3 separate regions of the Homo sapiens genome follow, and regions 1 and 3 are each linked to region 2. Evidence: promoter capture Hi-C in 16 types of primary human blood cells and fetal thymus (Javierre and others, 2016). All regions are on one chromosome and are shown on one strand. The core of a region is centred on a gene start or on the middle of the fragment in contact, and the rest is flanking DNA. Distances in the headings are between cores, read along the strand shown.

What was found. The method cuts DNA at HindIII sites, captures the fragments that hold promoters and counts their contacts. A CHiCAGO score of 5 or more calls a contact.
Region 1: a fragment that was not itself captured here is called in contact with the fragment with the promoter of ITIH2 in region 2 in 1 of 17 cell types (endothelial precursors); the score reaches 10.4 in endothelial precursors.
Region 3: a fragment that was not itself captured here is called in contact with the fragment with the promoter of ITIH2 in region 2 in 1 of 17 cell types (M2 macrophages); the score reaches 7.0 in M2 macrophages.

Annotation. Positions count from the first base shown.
Region 1 is chr10:9,276,833-9,279,532 of GRCh38, forward strand. All of the region lies in intron 1 of LINC00709 (long intergenic non-protein coding RNA 709), which reads left to right. The region is part of intron 3 of LOC101928272 (a long non-coding RNA gene); the gene reads right to left. Among named protein-coding and RNA genes, the nearest start is that of LINC00709, 2.6 kb to the left of the region's middle. The HindIII fragment of the contact is 911 bases long and covers 918-1,828 here.
Region 2 is chr10:7,701,984-7,704,683 of GRCh38, forward strand. ITIH2 (inter-alpha-trypsin inhibitor heavy chain 2) reads left to right here and starts at 1,333. Exons shown (of 21, transcript NM_002216.3): 1 at 1,333-1,535. The coding sequence starts at 1,452. The HindIII fragment of the contact is 18,944 bases long and covers 1-2,700 here.
Region 3 is chr10:9,305,843-9,308,542 of GRCh38, forward strand. No RefSeq gene overlaps it. Among named protein-coding and RNA genes, the nearest start is that of LINC00709, 32 kb to the left of the region's middle. The HindIII fragment of the contact is 7,013 bases long and covers 1-2,700 here.

The DNA.
Region 1 (2,700 bases), core at 123-2,622, 1.6 Mb after region 2:
CTCTGCAACCTCCACCTCCTGTGTTCAAGTGATTCTTCTTCCTCAGCCTCTTGAGTAGCTGGGATTACAGGCATGCACCACCACACCTGGCAAATTTTTGTATTTTTAGTAGAGACAGGGTTTTGCCATGTTGGACAGGCTGATCTTGAACTCCTGACCTCAGGTGATCCACTCACGTCGGCCTCCCAAAGTGCTAGGATTACAGGCGTTAGTCACTGCACCTGGCCTTCACGTCTAATTTTTAAAATAAGATCATGCTTCTAGCCAGTTCCTGTCTTTTGTCTATGACTCTAAGAAAGGAATATTAAGCATGTCACAAAGAATAGAATGTGTTTTACTCATAGAGTAATGCTATTGGAGTACGTAACAGAGAATATAAATTTGGTGTAATTTTTAATAGGGCTATTAAAATCATTTAAAGTAATATTTTATCTTATTAAAATCTCAAAATACATACTTTATCAAAATAAAAAATAAACTTTCTTTGACCCGGCAATCAAGTATAGTGAAATCTTTATGCAAAGTGATCTTCATTGCAGCTTTGATTTTAAGAGCAAAAGGCAATGTTATGTAGCTATTCAAAAGAATGTAACAGATCTGTAGGAAGTAACACAGAGATTTACTGATAATATGCTGAGCAAAAATGATTTCTGCAGAACAGCATGTACAGTATTATTTTATAGTTTTAAAAAGAATAAAAAGTATGTAAAATACACATGAATATTTATGTAGGGGAGTGAGGGAGGGTAAGCATCTGTGTGAAGGTTCATGCCTAACCTTTAAACACAGAGACTATCCAGAAACGGGTTAACTATAGAAGAGAGGGGAAGTAGAACACTTTACTTTTTTTGTTAACGTGCTTTACGGTATTTGAATTTTCAAAAATAAGCATGTATTAATTTTATAATCAAACATAAAGCTTCAAGCACACACTATGTTAAATGTGTTTGATAAATCCAGTGTTCAGGGTTATAATGCTTGCTTAGACTAACTGGTTTCACATGGGTACCTGTGACCAGCGTAAGGTCATTGCTAGGCAAAAACACTGTAATTTCTAGAAACAAATAGAACGTTCTACATACAACAAAAAATGTAAGTCATAGCATTTTGGAGATAATGCTGAATCTCATCAGGCACAGTCAACCAAAACCAGGTTCATTTCATTCTCAGAATTTCATCTACATTTGCCAGAGATTTTAAATTGAATAATGGACTGACTGTGCGTGAATGAAATGCATGCATTTCTTTTATATTTCTGAAATAGCAATACAGGCTGAGACCCCAGCGGGGGAGCAGGGGAGCTGGGGGTCTGGGCGACAGTAGAGGAATGGTGTTGTGTGAGATAGGGACTTAATGAGATAAGGGAATATGTATTTTTGTGAGGGGAAAAAACTTCATAACATTTTTCATATGAAACATACACAAGAATAATGGAATAGATTATATCTTATGAAATGTGGCCTACAGTAAGTTACTGTTGCATGTCTTCCTTCCATAGAAAAGGAATGAATTGGAGACATTCACTTATAATGAAAATTGTCTGTATTTTTCTCAATTGAGAGAGTTCATTGAGACTTCATAGAATAGTTTTATTACATATTACATAGGAAGGAAAAAACACAATTTTTTTGTTCCAATAACAACCTTTTATCTAGCTCGACAATGCACTTCCACGGCAGCTGGATCAAAAAAAAAGAGACTGCTGCAATTCAGAGTCAAAGTGGAGTTTCTTTTCGAAGTGGTCATCAACAGCTTTTAGCAAATGAAGGAAGGGCATATCTTTCCGGGGAAAATGAAGCACCCCTTTCTTTGGCCCAAATGATGGTGAAGCTTCTTTTGTTTATTGGTGATGTTTTTTTTTTTCTTTTGGTTTTTGTTTGCTGGTTTTTGTTTTTTGTTTTTTGTTTTTTTCCCAACCGTTCGTTAAAAAGAAGAAAATGAGAGAGAGGACAAAAATGTGAACGTTATGCTATTTAGTGGTCATGCTCTAGAGGTTTTGAAAAAATAGCCATCAGCAGATGCATCAAGATATGACAGGGTTGCACATTAACTATTTTCCTGTCATACCAAGAATTCTGGAATCTTGTATTTTATTGCAAGCTGTCATCTCACCCACATTTTCAAGGTGACCTCAAGTCTTCTAGGTTCTCCTTCTCAAACAATTCTCATGTTTCTAGATTTGAGCTCTTCTAAACACCTCTGAGTATGACCTGAAAAAGTTATTTCTCCTTAAAATATGTCCGACAACTTCTCCTATGACTACCCTTTTTAAACATTCAAAATGACAGTATTTCCACTAAAACCACCTCTTTAACTGATGTTCGAACTTGGATGTGGATACTCCTTTTGTAACATGGACGTATAGTAGATATCAGTGTGTCTGCTGCTTCTGTTTGTTGCTAAGGTTCATAGGGCATGTTCTCTTTTCCAATACTTTTTCCTGAAATACATTTTGTGATTTTTGTCATTGTTCCTTTGTCCAGGGATTCTTTAGGACAATTGTTTAAAATCTAAGCAGTTAAAGCCCGACATTTTGGCTCACGCCTATAATCCCAGCACTTTGGGAAGCCAAGGTGGGTGGATCACTTGAGGTCAGGAGTTCGAGACCAGCCTGGCCAACATGGTGAAATCCAATCTCTACTAAAAATACAAAAATTAGCTGGGCATGGTGCCACATGCCTGAATCCCAGCTACTTGGGA
Region 2 (2,700 bases), core at 83-2,582:
ATTACAAGTGTGAGCCACCGCGCCCAGCTGCCATTGGGTCTTAATTCTCCAGAAACAGTATCTCAGTCAAGAATGCAAAGCTGTGGCAGGATTTTTCCATGAGGGGTCCACTGAGGCACTCACTGGCCAAGGTGGGCGCTCAACTAGTCCAACCTAGGCAAGGGAGGGGAGAATCTGTTTTCTCCCTTCCATTATTTCAGAAGTTATGTTTCTCCAGCAGACACACGGCTGTGCAATTTCGAAGACTGAGGGGAAACTAGGGAGGAAAATGCAGAAAACTCTCTGTTGCATGCCCTGTGAATTGGGCTTTAAATGTAGCAAGGAGCTCCAGGATCCCAGAAGTTGGCCTGGGGTGCTTGGTCCTGAGGATAAGACAACCTCCCTTGTATTGTAATTCTGCCCACAGCTGGAGCTTCCTATTTCAGTGTTGCATCCAAGAAGTTACATTTCCTGTTTGTTGCAAGAAAAATAGAATCTGACCAGGATGGAGGCTAGGCATGGGGGCTCACATCTGGAATCCCAGCAGTTTCGGAGGCTGAGGCAAGCAGATAGCTTGAGCCCAGGTGTTCAAGACCAGGATGAGCAACATGATGAAATCCCATCTCTACAAAAAATAGCCAGGCAGTGTAGTGCACACCTGTAGTCCAGCTACTCTGGAGGCTGAGGTGGGCAGATTGCTTGAGCCGGGGGAAGTTGAGGCTGCAATGAGCTTTGATCTCACCACTGCACTCCAATTCTGAGACTGGGGAGTATTGATTTGCCACTGACCTGAGCCCGGCTGATAGGGGCAGCAGGACAGACACTGTTACCTTAATCAAAGACATTCACGAAGCATTCTCACTGAAGATCTGCCCTAGTATCCTGCACAGCCACTTGCCTGGGTCTTTATAGGTAACAGGTAGACAGTCATCAAAGAGATAGGGGAAAACATGCACAATGAATTCTTTGCTCAGAAAAACCCTTCTGTGTCTTCTCCCACTTTTTCTAAATTTTTCCTGCTTTCATTTAGATCAAAGGATTTTGTTTCTTGGAATAGTTCTGCACTTGGTCCTTTAGAAAGGATGACAATTATCTGTAGGTCTCTCTGATTTTAAGATCAATAGAAATCAGCAAAAGCCAAAAAATAAAAAATAAAAATAAAATAAAAGCACACAAGCACATTCAAGCACATCCATCTGCCCCTGACTTGTCCTCACAGTAAGCAACTGCTTCTGACTTTGCTGTTTGAATAACCTCTGGGTGTTCGATCCACCCACACAGCTCAAGTTTGAGCTCCAGAACAAATATTTGTCCCAATTTTGAACAAAGTTAGAGAGTTTTTTCTTCTTTTTTCTTCTTTCTTAAAGCGAACTGTACTCCTCTGCTGTTCCTTTGAACTTGGTTCAGTAGGAAGAAGTGATATCCTCCCCAGACCATCTGCTTTGGGGAGCTTGGCAAAACTGTCCAGCAAAATGAAAAGACTCACGTGCTTTTTCATCTGCTTCTTTCTTTCTGAAGTATCAGGCTTCGAAATCCCCATAAATGGACTTTCTGAAGTAAGTACTTACAGATCACTCCTTGCTGTTGGCTTGTTCATGAGCTCAGTAAATCATCTATTGGAATCGCTATTCAATGGCCTTATTCTGTGTGTAATGGAAACTTAAGATAAAATTCATCTGAGTGCAAGTGTTTACTGTTATAATTACTGGAATGTATATTTACCTTTTAAAGCATTAACAGGTTTTGCATGAAAATTAAGTCAAGATCAATGGGCAGGCATCAGAGCGTAGCATTTATGGAGCAGAGCTGCTCACTCCTCACCTAAAAAATTGGGGGTAAGAATAGACCTAACCCAATGGTTTGCTTTGAGAATTAAATGACACAGTGTAAACTCTTCTAGCAGAGCGCCTGGACTAGTAAGTGCTTAATAATTACTAGCTGTTATGATGATGAAGAAATATTATCACTCTTTTACTAAGAGTATAAGAAAAGTCATTATCAAAGCACACTGTTTTTCATATCTAAGTGAACAGTGATATTTGTAATAAGAGCACTTTAAGTATTCCTATTAAAGCGGAAGATAGCAGGCAGGGTGGAAAAGTACAAGAATAATTCCCATGGAGTACAGGTCTCCACTTTTGTCCCTTAGCCATCTCCAATGTAAGGAAAGTCTTGGACTGAAAGTCTGTTTCTGAAAGTCATACAAGAGCTATTTTTATGCCAGAAAAGCGAAGCATGTTATGGGAACATCCCAGCAAATGCAAAGGCTTATAATACTTGCAGAGTGGATTACCTATAAAAATGCCAGAGAATATGACGGCATATTTACAAAGGGAAAATATCACTCTGTCTGCTTTGAAACTATCATATTTTCCAACACTTAAAAGCCACCAGAGTGTGTTAGAAATCTCAAATTGAAGCCAAGACATCCAAATGTGTTTGTGCTTTTTCAGTCATTTCTAACTGGCATTTCCTTTTAGAAAATACCTACATTTTTAACTTGGGGAGATGTATGGTTCATGTCTGTCCAGTCAGACACTGCAAATGCCTCCAGGGTCTACCCAGATACTTCCCCAGACACCCACCTAATCACTGGGTTGTTTTGATCTCTGTCTTACCACCTGCTGGCAAACTCAAAAATGAATTCCCATGTCCAACAAATGCGAAGGTGTTGTTACCCTCCATTTGGACACCTCTGAGACGTAACCAGCAAATAGAAAT
Region 3 (2,700 bases), core at 152-2,651, 1.6 Mb after region 2:
AGAGATTTCTGGCTTTGATACAGATTTGGTGGTGGCAGGAGGAAGTCTCTCACAAGGAAAGAAGTGCTTCAAAAACTATAAGGAGAACAGAGAACCTCAAACATGTTGAGCAAAATATTTCAAGGTTCATATAGTGAGTTGGAAGTTGGTTAGTATGTTTCAAAAGAAGACATGCATGCGGCCAAGGATCATATGAAAAAAGCTCAACATCACTGACCATTAGAGAAATGCAAATCAAAACCACAAGGAGATACCATCTCACACCAGTCATAATGGCTACTATTAACAAGTCAAAAAAATACAGATTCTGGTGGGGTTGTGAAGAAAAAGGAATGTTTATACACCGTTGGTGAGAGTAAAAATGAGTTTAACCATTTTGGAAAACATTGTGGCGATTCCTCAAAGACCTAAAGAAATAAATATCATTTGACCCAGCAATCCCATTATTGGGTATACACCCAAAGGAATACAAATCGTCCTATTATTAGGACACACATACACATATATTAATTGCAGCACTATTCACAACACAGAATCAACATAAATGTCCATCAATGATAGACTGGATAAAGAAAATGTGGTATATATACACTATGGGATACTATGCAGCCATAAAAAAGAATGAGATCATGTCCTTTGAAGAGACATGGATGCAGCTGAGGCCTTCATCCTTAGCAACTCACACAGGAAGAGAAAACCAAATACCACATGTTTTCATGTATACCTGGGAGCTAAATGATAAGAACGTATGGACACACAGAGGGGAATGTCACACACTGGGGCCTCTCAGAGGGTGGAGGTGGGAGGAGGGAGGGAGAGGATCAGGAAAAATAACGAATGGGTTCTAGGCTTAATACCTGGGTGATGAAATAATCTGTACAGCAAACCCCCATGACACAAGTTTACCTGTGTAACAAATCTGCACATGTACCCCTGAACTTAAAATACAAGTTTAAAAAAAAGAAAGTTGGTGAGTGTGTCTTTTAAAATTTTTGAGGAAAGAATATGTGTTTTATATGGTCAATGATCTCTATGATGTGATACTCCATGTACTGCTCCGTACTGAGCCTTGAGCAGTCCCAGACTGCCTTCTACTTTCCATACCTCAATTCTGCCTGATAACTTTTTCAAAGGCATACATATGGGTATCTGGGATTAGAAAACATTGGTTTCTGAACCTTAATCTACTGCTAATACATTTTTCTCCTTGGTCTATCTGCATATAAATTACTTAAAATTTTGAACCCTATTTTGTCATTATCTAACTAGTGACACACGCTAACTAGTGGCAAAATAACATTCTGAGTAGAAACTCCATCACCTTACATGACTGATGTTTATTATATAATGTGACCTGATCATAATGACGTGTGATAGGAAAAACACTTATTTTTTAGGTACAGTCACTGCCATCATAGACATTGCCATTAGTATGCTTCTAAGAAGCATTGTTAATCAAGTGGCAACATAAGATATTGGAAAAATTATGGGCTTGGGTATCTATCCTAGCTCCACGTCTTACTTGCTGCATGGCTTAATTACTGAATTTTAGTATCCTCCTCTGTAGAGTAAGAAACATGGATGTTAAAGACACAAGCTACATGAAGCATAGAAATTGAAGGAGTACTTTATTCATGGCTATAAAATTAATATTAAACAGACTATTTTCAAATTTTATGGATTTAGTATTAGAGGGATTGGCATAAATGTCACTGGTGATTTGGCCGAGATATTAAAGTATTTATTTATCTAATCAATAGTTATTATTGCAAATAGAAACAAAGTAGTTATCTTTCACTGCTGCCCAAGGCAAGAAGTTAAGTTACTCCTATAGTGTAATTTAAATTTGTAAATTACATTGACTGCTACAATAAGTTCCCCAAATCATGGGACACTTACAAAAAGAAAAGGATAAATGGATAAAAAGCTACGATACTCGAGAATAAATATCAGTGTAACTTTTTTGAGAGGTCTGCCTTTCAGAAATTGCAAAAAAATTCTAATGATACTCATCTGTTTCAAAGAGAAATGACATGAAAAATCTCATAAAATGTTTCACAGATATATTACGTATTAATATCAGTTCTCATTTCCACGTAAGTATAATTTTGAAAGTACTCTTACACAAGATATCATATTCTAGTCACATAACATGTCTGTGAGTTTGGCAAAGCAAAATGATTATCCACATAGCACAGTAAAACTGCTGACTGGAGCTGGGGCTTATTTGCTCCTATTCCAATCCCTTTCCAATGTACCACAATGTCTTCTTCAACAGATAAACATCCATGTATTGCTAACAAATAGGGGACCACGGCCCCTATGAATCAATTTCTGCAGTTGATGTTGAGTGGGGACAGGGAAACTATGGAAGCTCCTCCATGGGCCAATTAGCTAATACCCAGTGAGTCTCTTGGCTAAATAGACTCTGATACCAGAGTAAAAGTCTAGCAAGAACAACTCTGGTGGGGTAAATGAGAAGGCACAGAACTGCCAGGAGGAGGTTAAAACCAAGAAAAAATGTTCTTGTATTGACCAGAAATATACTCACTTCAACATCTTCCTGATTCTGTCAAAATGAGGATTTGCTGCTGAACTTGGGATTGACTCACTGTGGGATGATTTTCAGGGCCTCTATTCCCATCAGTAGATTATTTCTTGGTGTGCCAATATTTATTCTGTTGTTGGAGGAATTGCTTG